Regions from separate parts of the Homo sapiens genome. Here all the other regions are linked to region 3. Evidence: promoter capture Hi-C in 16 types of primary human blood cells and fetal thymus (Javierre and others, 2016). All regions are on one chromosome and are shown on one strand. Each heading gives the region's core, a stretch centred on a gene start or on the middle of the fragment in contact. The rest is flanking DNA. Distances are from core to core; before and after follow the strand shown. Region 1 overlaps NEDD1 (NEDD1 gamma-tubulin ring complex targeting factor). Region 2 overlaps NEDD1 (NEDD1 gamma-tubulin ring complex targeting factor). Region 3 holds the start of LINC02453 (long intergenic non-protein coding RNA 2453). Region 4 has its middle 86 kb from the start of NEDD1. Region 5 overlaps NEDD1 (NEDD1 gamma-tubulin ring complex targeting factor).

Region 1 (2,700 bases), core at 140-2,639, 1.6 Mb after region 3:
TTTGCTGGTTTTGCTTTGTATTCTTTCACTATAAAATAAATCATAGCCATGAGTATGACTATATACAGAATCCTGTGAGTTCTCCTAGAGAATGACCAAATCTGGTCTTAGAAATCCCCAACACAGCATGTGAGAGTGTGAGAGAGAGAGAGAGAGAGAGAGAGAGAGAGAGTGTGTGTGTGTGTGTGTGTGTGTGTGTGTGTGTGTGTGTGTGTGTGTGTGTGTGTTTTACAACAGATAATAAACTAGATGACCAAAAACTAAAATCCCACGGACAACATTTACAACAAACTAGATGATGAGGTATCCCCATGAACCCCCAAACACATGCTGAGAGGTCAAACAATTAACAGCCATAAGTCCTTCATGGTACTGGTGTCTGTGCAGAAGGAAGTAGAAGGAATAACAAGGAATCTGTGACAGATCTGAGAACAGAAGCAGCCCATAACAGCCAAAAGGTATTCACAGAAAAGCATGGTGGCCAATTTTACAACCTCAGTCAAAACCCAGAATATCCACTTCATTAACAGGTCTGTGCTACAGGTTTGCAGGAAGGTCAAGACAAGAGCAGTTTAGCCAGAGAATTCCAAAACTGACCAGCCAAAGTGTGTCCCTCTCAGGTCAGAGCCCCACACTGAGGAGATCTGCTAGAAGTGGAAGCAAACCTGAACAGGATGGAGGCAACAAAGGTTCACAGACAGGTGGAAAAGTAGAGCAGAGTCAGGGAACCCCAGAAAGCAAGCAGCCATTAAAAAAAAAATATATATATATATATACACATATGTGTGTGTGTGTGTGTGTGTGTGTGTGTGTGTGTGTGTGTGTGTATACATGAAAACAATAGGGAGCTCTGTGAAGTTAGAAAAGCCACTTTGACCTCCTTTTGTCTAGAAGTTCAGGGAAGCTAAAACTAATTTCACAGATATATCCCACACAAACTTATGAAAACAAAGAGAACAAGGAGAAAAACGTTCTCAACAGAAGATCAGAAAGAAAAAAAAAATACAAGACATTAAGGAAAAAAAAAATACAAGACATTAAGAAAAAAAACATAAATTTAAAACTCAGAAAAGAGATGTCAGAACTTGGGAAAGAATTAGAAATTTTTTAAATCTCTTCAAAAATGAAGGCTAATTTAGAAGGAATTCAAAAATGAATAAACACAACAGACAATACCTTAAAGACAGGTTAAAAAGAAATTTTTAAAAATCAAAAAGAAATAACAAAAAAGTTTAAAAACACTTGAGAAAAAATGATAAACCACTGAAGATAAGCAAAGAAAATGCAACAACAAAAAATCCAAAGAGAGAAAAAGAATACTAAAAATTATAATTTAAGAAAAATTTCCAAAAATAAAAAAAGACTTGAAACTACATATTAAGAAACACACTATGGGCCGGGGGTGGTGGCTCACGCCTGTAATCCCAGCACTTTGGGAGGCCGAGGCGGGCAGATCACGAGGTCAGGAGATCGAGACCATCCTGGCCAACGTGGTGAAACCTCCATCTCTACTACAAAAACTACAAAAAATTAGCCAGGCGTGGTAGCAGGCGCCTGTAGTCGCAGCTACTCGGGAGGCTGAGGCAGGAGAATGGTGTGAACCCAGGAGGCGGAGCTTGCAGTGAGCCCAGACAGTGCCACTGCACTCCAGCCTGGGTGACAGAGCGAAACTCTGCCTCAAAAAAAAAAAAAAAAAAAAAAAGAAACACACTATGTACCTAACAATAGCAATACATAATGACCAACATCAAGACATATTCTAGAAAAATTACGTGGCTTTAAAGAAAAAAAAAATTCCTTTGAATAACCTAGGAATAAAAAACTAGTGACTTAAAAGGGTTTCAAAAGCTATGAAATCACGTCACACATTTGAGACCAAAGATAATAGGGTAACACTTAAGCTCCTTAAAGGAAATGTAAGCCTGCTACTAAATTACATTGAAAGAGAACTTGTACTCTCAAAGAAAAGAATCAAAAATCAGAAGATACATACTTATGAAAACAATATTAACATGTGCTCATTTATTATAAAAATTTGGAAAATAAAACAATAGAGGATTTTTAGGTAAATGATGGCATTGAATAATGAAATACATCCAGTCATTAAAAATTATGGTTATGAAGACTAATAATATGAGGATACCCAGGGTAGATCACTAATGAGAACAGGCAGAAAACATGATTGGACAAACAGAATGAGTATAACTATATGGACAGAAGACAGAGCTATACATAGAAACACTGTTAGAAAACATCTTTCAAATAGCTTTCTACTGAAGAAAATTTAGAAGAGAAAAATAGAAGGAGAAAAGTCTTTAAGAAGAAATATACAGATTATCCATTTATTTTATGCCTACATGTCAATTATAAAATTGCTCAAGAACATATTATATAGGCTAGTCAAGTGTATACCAATACTACAGAAATATATAGAGAATCAAAGAAATGTTATCATATAAACATTTTATACCAATGCTCCTATATAACATAAAAAAGACCACTTCTAGATAAAAAGTCTTTGTAGTCAAAGTTTTTGAGTGCTGCAATTCTGGTATAAATATAACCAGTCAATGAAATAAACCAATTTAGAATAGATTCATTCTTGAGAAAACTATTATTTCTAAAAATGTAATTAATATTTACATTTATCAGATCTCCATACTCAAGCAGACTATTAATGCTTACAAAATCTATACATAA
Region 2 (2,700 bases), core at 1-2,500, 1.6 Mb after region 3:
TGTTTGAGGTTCATTGAGTTTCTTAGGTCTCATTTGTTTCTCTCAAGGATCAATATCTGACAACTGTTTCACATATTTTCTTTTTTAATTTCAGGTGGGAAGGTAAATCTCTCATATCATTTTGGCCAACAATGAAATTTCAATTTCATGTTTCCTATTTTTTGCATATAACATTTTATTTTTTATACTTACTTAGCTTTTAAATTCCATGACAAAAATGTTTCATCTGTACACATAATTACTAAAATTATTTCATCCCACCTCTTTTAATATACATTATGTGTATTTATTTTTTTAAAAAAGCAACAGGAAAATATTAATAGATTTAAATACACCATGTAGGCAAAACACACTAATATTTATGTCTTCTAAACCTGTTAGTGATATACAAGGAAACTTGTTACAAGTCATAATGCTTTCATAATCTGTCAGGAAAAGATCACATTAACATCCCTATATGCTTCAGTACAAATGTATGCTATAAACCACACTGGGTAAAAGTAATATTCCTGTTTTTATTTTTGGAAGTAATTATTAGTAAGTTTATGCTTATTAAATATATCCTTAAAAATTTCCATCACTTCAGAAACCCATAAAGTTAGTGAGCTAAAGGTTTGTTTTTTGTTTTTTTTTTTTTAATTTTAGTAAATACTTTCATCTCAGAAGTCAAAATGGGGCAGAAGAGCTATACAAAGGTACACAGTTTAAATCTTTGGGACAAGAGACAAGAAGGTAACCAAGTCAGTAGCCCCCCCAAGCTTCACTTAACCTAAAATTGTAGATCATAGTAGGTAGATGTATACATCTATCTATTGCCAAAGAGGTATAACTTATTTTGACAACCTTTCTAAATAATTTTATGGTAAGGCCAATAATATAAAAATATTATACACAGTACAGAAAGAATTAAAGTTAATGATAAAGACCACAAAATAAAATAATCCAAGCTTCTTATTTGGAAAAAGAAAATAGAAATAATACTATAATATTTAGTACCTAATATGAAATCTCCACTCATTATAAGTTGTCATGTTGATTGAAATTTTGCAGTACAACGTTGCATGTTACTAATGAGAAAATCACCAGATAGCTCTTGTCGAGTCCTATGAACCTTAAACATTTTTTATAGGTAAAGATATCTTAAAAATACCACCCAGGAATAAAGATTTGTCAGAAGTACAATATAGTAACATAAATGCAAAAGATATCATGTAATTTGTGCAATTCAAAATTCCAAAAATTGTCTTATCAAATGTACAATAAATAATAGTCATACTTGACTTCATCAAGTTAACAAAATAATTACTAGCCAACCCTATGTTTTATTAGTCAATGGCTTAGAAACACCAATTGCCATTTTAAAATTACTTTCTCCATAAAAATAGAAGGCATATCAAACTCTTTAAATCTCAACTAGCCCCAAAAATTTGAAAGGCAATTTGTCAATCAAAAATATATGTTAAAAAAGATGACTAAAAAACAAACATAACCAATTTTTATGCACAATTTTCTTCTCTTATGAAAAAGGGCACTTAGTGGATGGCTAAAGCTTTCAAAAAATAAAGATCCTGTTGACTTTCCTATTGGGTAGATGACATACTGTACAATTTTTAATATAAAAATATACATATTTTTAAGATGAAACAGTTGTTGGTATAAAATCCCATCATCCTTTTACTCTTACTTGAAAAACATTTTTTCCCTGGAGGCCATGAAAACAATACTGATTCTATGTAGTTCTGTGTTGCCAGAAACTTCCCAAATTACAGAACATTAAGGTATTCACTGAAATTTCAAAAGTGGGCCCGTAATCTTTTGTTTTCTTCTCGTAGTCTTTCAATTTCAGCCACTAAACCTTCATTCACTGAGTATCTTTCCAGCAAAGAATGCATTTCATTCTAGAAAAACAGGAAAATGCTTTTTAAATTATTGATATTTCACATTTATTTGGCAGGCTATGTTTAATATACTTTCAGCTATCATTTCTCTCATGTTCAATTAACTAGGTGAATGATATTTCTTGTACTTAACAACTTACTAGTTTGTTAATATAAATGGAAGATCGTTGGTGAAATTAGTATATTTGGAAAATTTATATTTGCACATTTAAAATGCTTTTTGCTTACTTATCAGGAAGAAAGCCATGGAAAAAAGAAGGCTTAAGTATCTCAGAGGTTAAAAAGGAGGTGACCAGTTAAAATCTATTTTACTTATTTAGTCTATAAAACTCCCTATTTATCTTAGAAACTAAACAAAACAACTAAAATATATTACCTTTCATGGATTTTTAAAAATTCACACAACTCTACTTTCATTTAAAATATTAAAATAAAATTTGCCATACATACCAGTTGCATATGAAACTGTTTAATCATCTCCACTTGCAAATTCACAATGTCCCTATGGCATGCTTCTCTAGGAAGAATGTAAAATACTTTTTAGAATTACAATAGTTTAACCAATTCTAGGTCATTCAAGAAACTCACTAAACTTTTTCATTTGCCAAATTACTGAATGTTAATAATTACTATAATAATAAAAATACCAATGCACTGAGCATTTATTCACTATGTGCTAGGCACTGTTTCCTTTACTTTAAATGTAAGAACTCGTTTAAAATATCTTCACAAGTAGATGCAATTATTACAGGTCCATTTTACAAAAGAAATAACTTAACCAGAGTAGATATAACTTGTTCAA
Region 3 (2,756 bases), core at 235-2,734:
GAACGAGCAAGCTTTGCTTCCTGCTATTAAAGAGATTAATAGTCAAAAGTGGTGACTAGTCATCACTCGCATAATCGGTGAAAACATAAAAGGCGCCCAGTCCAACAGCTTTTCCCACATTCCTCCCCGCCACCCACCTCCAGAAGGAGTCTTGCTTGGTCACCCAGGCTCACTGCAACCTCCGCCTCCCGGGTTCAATCAATTCTTCTGCCTCAGCCTCCGGAGTAGCTGGGATTACAGGTGCACCCCACCATGCCCAGCTAATTTTTGTATTTTCAGTAGAAATGGGGTTTCACCATGTTGGTCAGGCTGGTCTTGAACTCCTGACCTCGTGATCCACCCACTTTGGCCTTCCAAAGTGCTAGGATTACAGGTGTAAGCCACTGAGCCTGGCAGTCACACATTCTTTCAACTGTTTGTTTCCACCTTTATTATAAAGTATTTATAAAGAGGGATCCAGAGTCCCTCACCTGGTTCAGAATCTTGGGTGACCCTTGGCAGGTCACTAACCCTGTGAGCCACAGCCACATTTGTAAAAGTGGGATAATAGTCACACATTGTGAGGTTGTTCACAGTGTTGGCACATGGTAAGGGCTAAGACACTTGATTAGCATAATATTCAAAATTAGAAATTGTACACTATTGTACTCTCTTTCAAAAGGCAAACAGCCTAAAACTGTTTGGAAAAAACAGCTTGTACAGTATATTGTACACTTCCTGTGATAGACTAGTGGACTGATACACCCACTAATGCACAGCAGTAATAGTCCACCTCTTTACACATTATGCATGTTAAGTGACAAAAAAACTCACTTTAAAAGGCCAAATGATAAAAACATCAGCCTTGAGGCTCTTCGATATAGAGTAAATCATATCTTCCTGCAAACCAAGGATTAGTATCATAATACCTGAAAGAGGAAAACTTAATTCTAACATTCAAGAAAATTGGCGGCAGGAATACACCTCGGCTTCTAGTAGTCGGTAGTTTAAAATACAGGAGGAAAAAAAAAAAGTTTGACCCCGACGTGATTCGAACACGCAGCCTTCTGATCTGGAGTCAGACGCGCTACCGTTGCGCCACGAGGTCCTGCTGGGCTGTGGCTCGCGCAGTTTCTTAGGACACCAGTAAATGGCGTTTCTTCCAGGGGTACCAGTCTTTCTCTTCCATTTACTCTCTGCCCCTCCACCCAGTATCTGTCGGACCAGGAGACCGATTCCTTCAGCGTCCAAACTTTCCTGACTGCTAGTCCTCTAACCAAGGCTGGGACGTAACCAGCGGAAGCGGGAGAACGGGGCTTCCCGTTTAGTCGGGTCTCCAGGATCAAAGGAAATTGGCCCTTCCTTTTCTTTACCAAATGATTTCCGTTCTTACCCGCCCTGCCCCCGCCCCGTTAGTCGCGAGACTCCGCCCTCTCTCCCCTCCCCCAACAGGTTCCGCGCGCTGAGTTCGCGACCTCGAGTTGTAATCTGGCGGGGCGCCACTAAGCCGGCGCAGGCCTTCGCAAGATGGCGGCTGGAGGCAAGGGCAGAGGCCTTCAGAGCGTTTTCTTTTTCCCTTTCCTCCCTTCCTGCAAACAATGTAAGGCATTTTCTCTCAGGGGAGGCTTTCACTTCATGGTGGGCATTAAGGTTAAAAGTCACCATTTTGAAGACAGGGTTGTGCACTTAAGGGAGCTGGTTTAGCATATTATGTTTAACAGCAGTGTCCTGTCATTGAATGATACAGAAAATAATAACTGTCGCCAAAAAAGTGCAGCTACACACCTCCCCGTCGGGGAATTGAACCCCGGTCTCCCGCGTGACAGGCGGGGATACTAACCACTATACTAACGAGGAGTCGTTAGGCTGTGTATTTTCTCAGACAGCCCTTCAAGGAGCAGTAAGATCCTTCCAGCGCTCCGTAACCTTCCGCCTGCCCCCGGGAAGTACGAAAGTCCGGTCTCTTGGAGCCGCTGCTTAGGCTTATTGTCCTCTCTGGGCGCTTTGTATTCTTGATGTTGGTGGGAAGAATAAAAGGTGTGGAATATGTGAAGGAAACGCGCTTCCCATGTTAGTGCTAGAGAAGTGTGTGAAAATAGTTTTTCCGAGGCTCTTGACGCGTTCTAAATGATTTAGGTTGCCGTCCTGAGTTTTTTTTTTTTAACTGACCACTGGTATGTGACTTGCGGCTGAGCCTTCCCCTTACAAATTTATACTTTCACTCTGAAGTTCAAGTTCAAGGATAGCATATGGCTGCCAGATGTCGGGGACAGTTAGGGTTGCCACGGTCTCGTGCCTCTTCAAACAATTCATAAGTCTTTTTTTTTTGAGAGGAAGTCTCGCTCTGTCCCCTAGGCTGGAGTGCAGTGTTGCGATCTGGGCTCACTACAACCTCCACCTCCAAGGCTCAAGTGATTCTCCCGCCTCAGCCTCTCGAGTGGCTGGGATTACAGGCGCGCACCACCATGCCTGGCTAATTTTTGTATTTTACTAGAGACGCGGGGTGTGTGTGTGTGTGTGGGGGGGGGGAGGGTTCACCATGTTGGCCAGACTGGTCTCGAACTCGTGACCTTTAGTGATCCACCTGCCTCGGCCTCCCAAAGTGCTGGGATTTACAGGCGTGAGCCACCGCGCCCGGCCAATTCACACACTTTTGTAACACAAAAGCGCCCAATGAAATGACCAGCTGCGGGCAAATGAAATTTTATCAAAATTTTATCAGCCGACTTCTGTTTCGCTCTCTGTAGGTGGCTACAGTTTAACTGGAAGTGACAAAC
Region 4 (2,700 bases), core at 133-2,632, 1.5 Mb after region 3:
CAGAGAAAGTGAAAGCCAATATCTCTGCAGAGGGAGGAGGGAGGAGAAAGGTGACAGTTAGTTCATTTCTGTTCCTTCCCAAAGGACTTGAGCTTTCAGTTCATAGATTTTTTTTAAGTGACATTTGAAAGGTGCTGCTATCATCCATTCATTTGGGTTCTGTTTGGCCTTTAAATGTAATATTTCAACTGAGAGTTCAAGCAGGTGGGGGCAAGCTGGAAGGTTAAGATGTTTTCATGAAAAGCAACCAAGCCAGACAGTTCCTATTGTCAAGAAGACCCCATTGAAAGCAGGAAGCACTAAAATTAGCCACTTAAGCTAATTTTACCCCTCAGGTCGAGGGGCACAAGCCCAGCTGTCCGGCCTTCCAGACTGTTTCATTCTTCTAAGCAGGAAGGAATCAAAGGGAAGCAATACTGTGATCCAGAAAAATCCATTGAATGTTGGGGAGGGAAGGGTAGTTGTTTCCATTTAACCAACATGGGCAATGGAGGAAAATATTTTTCAGTAATTGGGAACTCAAGAAAGACAGAACCCCATTAAATTCCAAAGGCAACTGCTAAGTTTTAGTTGTTAATTTCTGTCATGTTGCCTTGGTTGGAATGATGATCATTAATTATTCCTTTATGAAGATTTACTTTTAAATTTGTCTCAAAATGGCTTGAACAATGGATTTTAACTGAGTATAACTATTATATTAAAAATCAATTTCTAAAATATGAACAGTAACAGAACAGATTTTGCATTGTACAGCGTAACAGAACACACACACGCACACACACACACTCTTACACCTCTAAAAACTTCACATTTGTTTTCTTTTTCTTTAGATAATAAACAGAACTGCTTCTTTGAGATGATACTGAATGGCCCATGTACCTCCCTTCACGCCAGCATAGGCATAACCATTTCAAAAAGGTGATTATAAACAATATCTTATATTCTGATGTTCCTTCCCTCCTGAAACTTCAGACTAAAGAGACTGAGTTTCCCCAGTGAGTCTCGGAAACACAAAACAGGATGTTTAATTTGTTTAAGTTTCCAGAGCAATTTACCGGAGACAAAAATAAAATACCGTGGCATTTTGCTGGCACCTTAAAAAAAAGAAAGCCTGTCTTGGAAGTACAATGAACCTCATGAGATCTCAAACACGAATCCTCTATTTGTATGCTCACATATTTTTATGATTTTGTTCACTGAAGAACAGTTTAACATATTCCAATCCATGCACTTAGTGAAAGAAAAGCTTCCAACAAAACAGGTCTTTTTACAAGGCAGCCCCCAAGGTCTCCAACAGCTAAACAGACGCAAGTAGCTGCGTACAGTCCCTATTCTAGCTGTGGCAATCAAATGATATGTTCACTGGATCATCTTAATTTGAAAAAAGGTTCTCCTGTTTAATAAAATACAGCGCCAAGCTCAGTGTCAGCCCTGAGTTTAAAAATCTTTAAAGAAAACTTCTATGCCTGTGAGTAAGGTACTATCATCTATGCTTTCATTATTTTAAAATGAAGCTTAAAATGAGAATAATTACTTTTTTAAAAGAAAAGAAATTATTTATCTGCAGCCCGTAGCTTAGATATTGTGCAAAACAGCCCAAGGAGGTCAAAGGCAGACATTGTTAAAAAGATGGTAAGTCACTTTATTTTTTTTTTTAATCTTGCTCTTCAGGATTTTCACTTGATCTGCAGCCACTGATGCCCTACCAGCTTGGAAAATGTTTTATTTCCTTGCTTTGGAGTGAATTATCAGGCAATCATTTGCTTTATTGATTCTGCTCATTATTGCAGTGGTTGCTTGCCTTAGGTCCCTGGAGGTCAAGGCAAGAAACCAAATATGTATGTGGATTTCTTTTCTACTGCTTCTGCTTGCTCTAATTTGACCCTCAACCACCAGAAAGCTACATAAGAACCATATTTAGGATTTGTAAGGTACTGTCTACTTAGAAGGTGCCAGTTGACACATGTATGTTAACCAACTGCCGGTTATTCCACATCACTTTAGAGTTCTTTGATTGCAAGCAACAGAAAATATCCCTGGATAATCAAAGGGAAAAAAGACTGTATCAAAAGCGAGTAAAGTGGAGAATAGATTGAAAGACTGAAGACCCCAGCACACACAAAAGTAGGAATGAAGAAAGGTCTGAGGAGGTCTAGCTATCAGGCCCAACTTGACAGTCTTAACTAGGCATTGCTACTCAAATAAATAAGTCAAGTCATTTTTTGAGTTTGTCGCTTATATCATATCATTGAAATTTCTGAATTCCAGAGGAGAAGGTCCTGTTGGCACTACTGACATTTTGGACTAGAAAATTCCTTGTGGTGGGTGGCGGGGGGTGGGGGTGGCTGTCCTGTGCATTGTAGGGTATTGAGTGGCACCCCTGGCCTCTACACACTAGATGCCAATAGCACCCCCACTAGCTGAGACAGAATGTCTCTAGACTTTGCCCAGTGTCCACTAGTAGGCAAAATTACCCCCAGGTGAGAACCACTGGCTTAGATTTAATCAACAACTGCCCACCTCATGGCTTACAAAAGGCCAGGTACCTTGATATACAACCCTATAACACAAAGAAAAGATGGATTAGTTTCCAAAACAGAAACTGGGATATTGTTTCCAAAAGATAGAGGAATTAGCGCTTGCTGTGCATTTCAATATTGGTAAGTAGAAAGCTGAAAAAGATTATGGTTTTTTAGCCTG
Region 5 (2,803 bases), core at 120-2,619, 1.6 Mb after region 3:
CATCTGTTATTTTTATACTTTAAAAAAAAAGCTCCCAAATACTGATTCACTGATCCTAAGGCATAATGCATAACAGTAGTACATATATATAGTGGTAGAGTAGAAGTTGAAATTGTTTTGATGTTGACATTAACAAGTTTTTTGAACATCTTAGGATACAAAGATCCAAAGATGGTTAAGATGTTTTGCCTGCTCTTGAAGACTTCAGTCTGCCTTTATCGACCAGAGACATTCTATGCCTTGATTCTGCTTAAGTCAGGTTAAACAGAGTGCCTCAAACTCCATTTCTACTGTTAGCACATGTTCCCTCTGTCCCAGTCTCCAACATCTGTGGGTTAGAACTGAAGTTCAGGTCAATCCCACTGGATACCTTTAGGAGAGGATTGATAAAAATCATGAGTCCTCTTTAAATTAGTTGAGCTTTTATTCAGTTGTCCTGCTGTTTTCTTTCTAATTGGGCTACTTTACCTATCCCAGTGTGTAAAATTATGACAATTCATAATAATTTAAGATCTGCTAGAAAAACTTTGAAATTAAAAAAAAAAGCTATCAACTACCATATCTTTTTATTTAAATCTTATCTTATTTAAAAAAGAAATAGCTTTCAAAGAGTGTGTGACTAGAAATGAAGAAGCCAGTATTATCCTTAATCAGAGGGATTAACTTATAAAACAAAAGGATAGGCTGGGTGTGGTGGCTCATGCCTGTAATCCCAGCACTTTGGGAGGCTGAGGCGGGCGGATCATGAGGTCAGGAGTTCAAGACCAGCCTGGCCAACATGGTGAAACCCCGTCTCTACTAAAAATACAAAAATTAGCCAGGCGTGGTGGTGGGCACCTGTAATCCCTGCCACTTGAGAGGCTGAGGCAGGAGAATCGCTTGAACTGGGGAGGCGGAGGTTGCAGTGAGCTAAGATTGCACCATTGCACTCCAGCCTGGGCAACAGAGCGAGACTCCATCTCAAAAGAAAAAAAAAAAAGGATAAGGCAACAGTACGTAGTGAGAGCTTCATTTAAACGCCCTGGGACCTAAGCTCATTTTGACAAAGCCAACCTGTTTAAGGAGAGTATGGGGGAGGCTCAGACAGGCCCCTCAGTACAGGTGGACAGAATCTGAAGCAGAGAGCTACCATCAGCTGTGAGTCTGTTCCTGATGGTCCTGAGCCCAAGATCAGTAAAGCAGTGCTGTGTCATTAGAGTTTATATGCTCAGGTCAACCTAGTAACCTATGTGGGATATCGTCCTAAAATAGCAGCAACAGAGATCCTCTCCCACTGAGGGAAAATGGAGAAATGAAGTGCCTAGTCAACAAAATTCAAGTCTTCAATTGTTCCCCTATATTCAAAACTATTTTACCTAAAAATACTTTAGTAAGTACACATATCTCATTTTTAAGTGTTACTATATTATTTTGAGCTTAAGTTAAAAATAATGCTTTTAAAAACCTTTATATTTAGTCGCAAGCACCACAATAAGCAATTGCCAGTCAAGCAAAACTAAGATTTTTAAAAGTTTAAAAAAAAAAAAAATCACTTACCCCTTCAGCAAGCTCTAAAAGTGGAACAGGTTTACATTTGCAACTTGAGACAACTATTTTGTCGCCACTGGAAGATGCTGTTACTAAAAAGTTATCTAAATGAGGAGTTATGGAGCATCAAACAATCCATGAACATCTATAGCACTAGACTATTATAAGAATTGCGATTATAAAAGCTAACACACTAAGAAGACAAGCAATGAGTATAGCTTACAGAGTAGCTTTCAAAAATGGCTCACATTACTATTAATAATTACTAAGACTAATTCTCTTTGCTACTACTGCAGGGAAGAACTAGCCTTCTTTCTGGCTCTGCTATCACTCAAAAGCTATTTAACCCACGTGAAATACTACTCTGTTTTCAAAGAGTAGGCCAGAAGGGCTAATTTTATCCTTCAAGAATGAGAGCATGATAAAAGCAGCATCAGCAAATATCAATCAACCTTTTCATCTACAGAAACTGTTCAAGATATTTATTAACCTAGTGCTTGGTAACAATCTAAACTAGGAAGCAAACATCCACACTAGTCTCCTATTTTTCTATTTAAAAAAAAAAAAGGCCTGATATTTTCCCAGAACATGAATTTTTGTGATAGAATGTTTCAATCTTAAATTAAGAATGACTATTACAGTAACTTGCAAATATTTTATAAATATGTATGGTTAAATAGGAATTGTGTTATGAGTTTTAATTTTTAAATAAAATGTAATTTTATTTACCTTCTTTTACACGAATTGTAAATGGAACAATCAGTAAACACAAAACAGTAACTATTTTAAAACTAAAATGATTAAATACAATAATATAACTAAGAATAAGAGTCTGATTTTGAGAGCCATAACAAATTAAAATATCAGAAGTTTAAATCTGTGCTTTTTAGCAATTAAAATCTGTGAGTAAAAGCAATGGAGAAAGGTTAATTAGACACTCAGAATCCCTAACTGCATTAACTTTTGAATGTTCTGTATAACTTTCAGGTATTTTGTAAACAGAGCATAGACTGTAATTTTATTATGATACATGATGCAAATCAAATCATTCCTACCTAGATATTACCATAGCGAGAAAAACCATTTCCCTTTCCTTGACTTCTTCCTGTTTACCACTACTTTTCTCCTTAGAATATAGAAAAAAAAGGACTGAAACATAATGTGGGTGGGTAATCTAGTTCTTTTTTATTTCTCTTGTAGTTTTAGAAATCATGAGAAAGTGAGGAACGTAAGTTAAAGGACAAGAAACAAAAAACTAATCTCTCTGGTGTCTCAC

Evidence for each region. Contacts are between HindIII fragments. The CHiCAGO score rates a contact against its expected background, and 5 or more counts as called.
Region 1: a fragment that was not itself captured here is called in contact with the fragment with the promoter of LINC02453 in region 3 in 1 of 17 cell types (naive CD8 T cells); the score reaches 10.7 in naive CD8 T cells.
Region 2: a contact is called between a fragment that was not itself captured here and the fragment with the promoter of LINC02453 in region 3, in 1 of 17 cell types (naive CD8 T cells). The highest score is 6.7, in naive CD8 T cells.
Region 4: a contact is called between a fragment that was not itself captured here and the fragment with the promoter of LINC02453 in region 3, in 1 of 17 cell types (total CD4 T cells). The highest score is 6.6, in total CD4 T cells.
Region 5: a fragment that was not itself captured here is called in contact with the fragment with the promoter of LINC02453 in region 3 in 5 of 17 cell types (total CD4 T cells, activated CD4 T cells, naive CD8 T cells and 2 more); the score reaches 10.2 in total CD4 T cells.

Annotation. Positions count from the first base shown.
Region 1 is chr12:96,927,684-96,930,383 of GRCh38, reverse strand. The region is part of intron 6 of NEDD1 (NEDD1 gamma-tubulin ring complex targeting factor); the gene reads right to left. Among named protein-coding and RNA genes, the nearest start is that of NEDD1, 22 kb to the right of the region's middle. The HindIII fragment of the contact is 6,422 bases long and covers 1-2,700 here.
Region 2 is chr12:96,951,147-96,953,846 of GRCh38, reverse strand. It overlaps NEDD1 (NEDD1 gamma-tubulin ring complex targeting factor), which reads right to left. Exons shown (of 16, transcript NM_152905.4): 15 at 2,349-2,415; 16 at 67-1,898. The coding sequence ends at 1,794. Among named protein-coding and RNA genes, the nearest start is that of NEDD1, 45 kb to the right of the region's middle. The HindIII fragment of the contact is 602 bases long and covers 950-1,551 here.
Region 3 is chr12:98,502,583-98,505,338 of GRCh38, reverse strand. It overlaps LINC02453 (long intergenic non-protein coding RNA 2453), which reads left to right and starts at 1,484. Exons shown (of 4, transcript NR_038383.1): 1 at 1,484-1,579; 2 at 2,727-2,756. TRD-GTC1-1 (tRNA-Asp (anticodon GTC) 1-1) reads right to left here and starts at 1,836; the gene lies at 1,765-1,836. It overlaps TRW-CCA4-1 (tRNA-Trp (anticodon CCA) 4-1), which reads right to left and starts at 1,087; the gene lies at 1,016-1,087. RefSeq lists enhancers at 1,127-1,426, 1,437-1,746. The HindIII fragment of the contact is 12,452 bases long and covers 14-2,756 here.
Region 4 is chr12:96,992,370-96,995,069 of GRCh38, reverse strand. No RefSeq gene overlaps it. Among named protein-coding and RNA genes, the nearest start is that of NEDD1, 86 kb to the right of the region's middle. The HindIII fragment of the contact is 268 bases long and covers 1,249-1,516 here.
Region 5 is chr12:96,911,551-96,914,353 of GRCh38, reverse strand. It overlaps NEDD1 (NEDD1 gamma-tubulin ring complex targeting factor), which reads right to left. Exons shown (of 16, transcript NM_152905.4): 4 at 1,537-1,631. Among named protein-coding and RNA genes, the nearest start is that of NEDD1, 5.7 kb to the right of the region's middle. The HindIII fragment of the contact is 4,151 bases long and covers 1-2,803 here.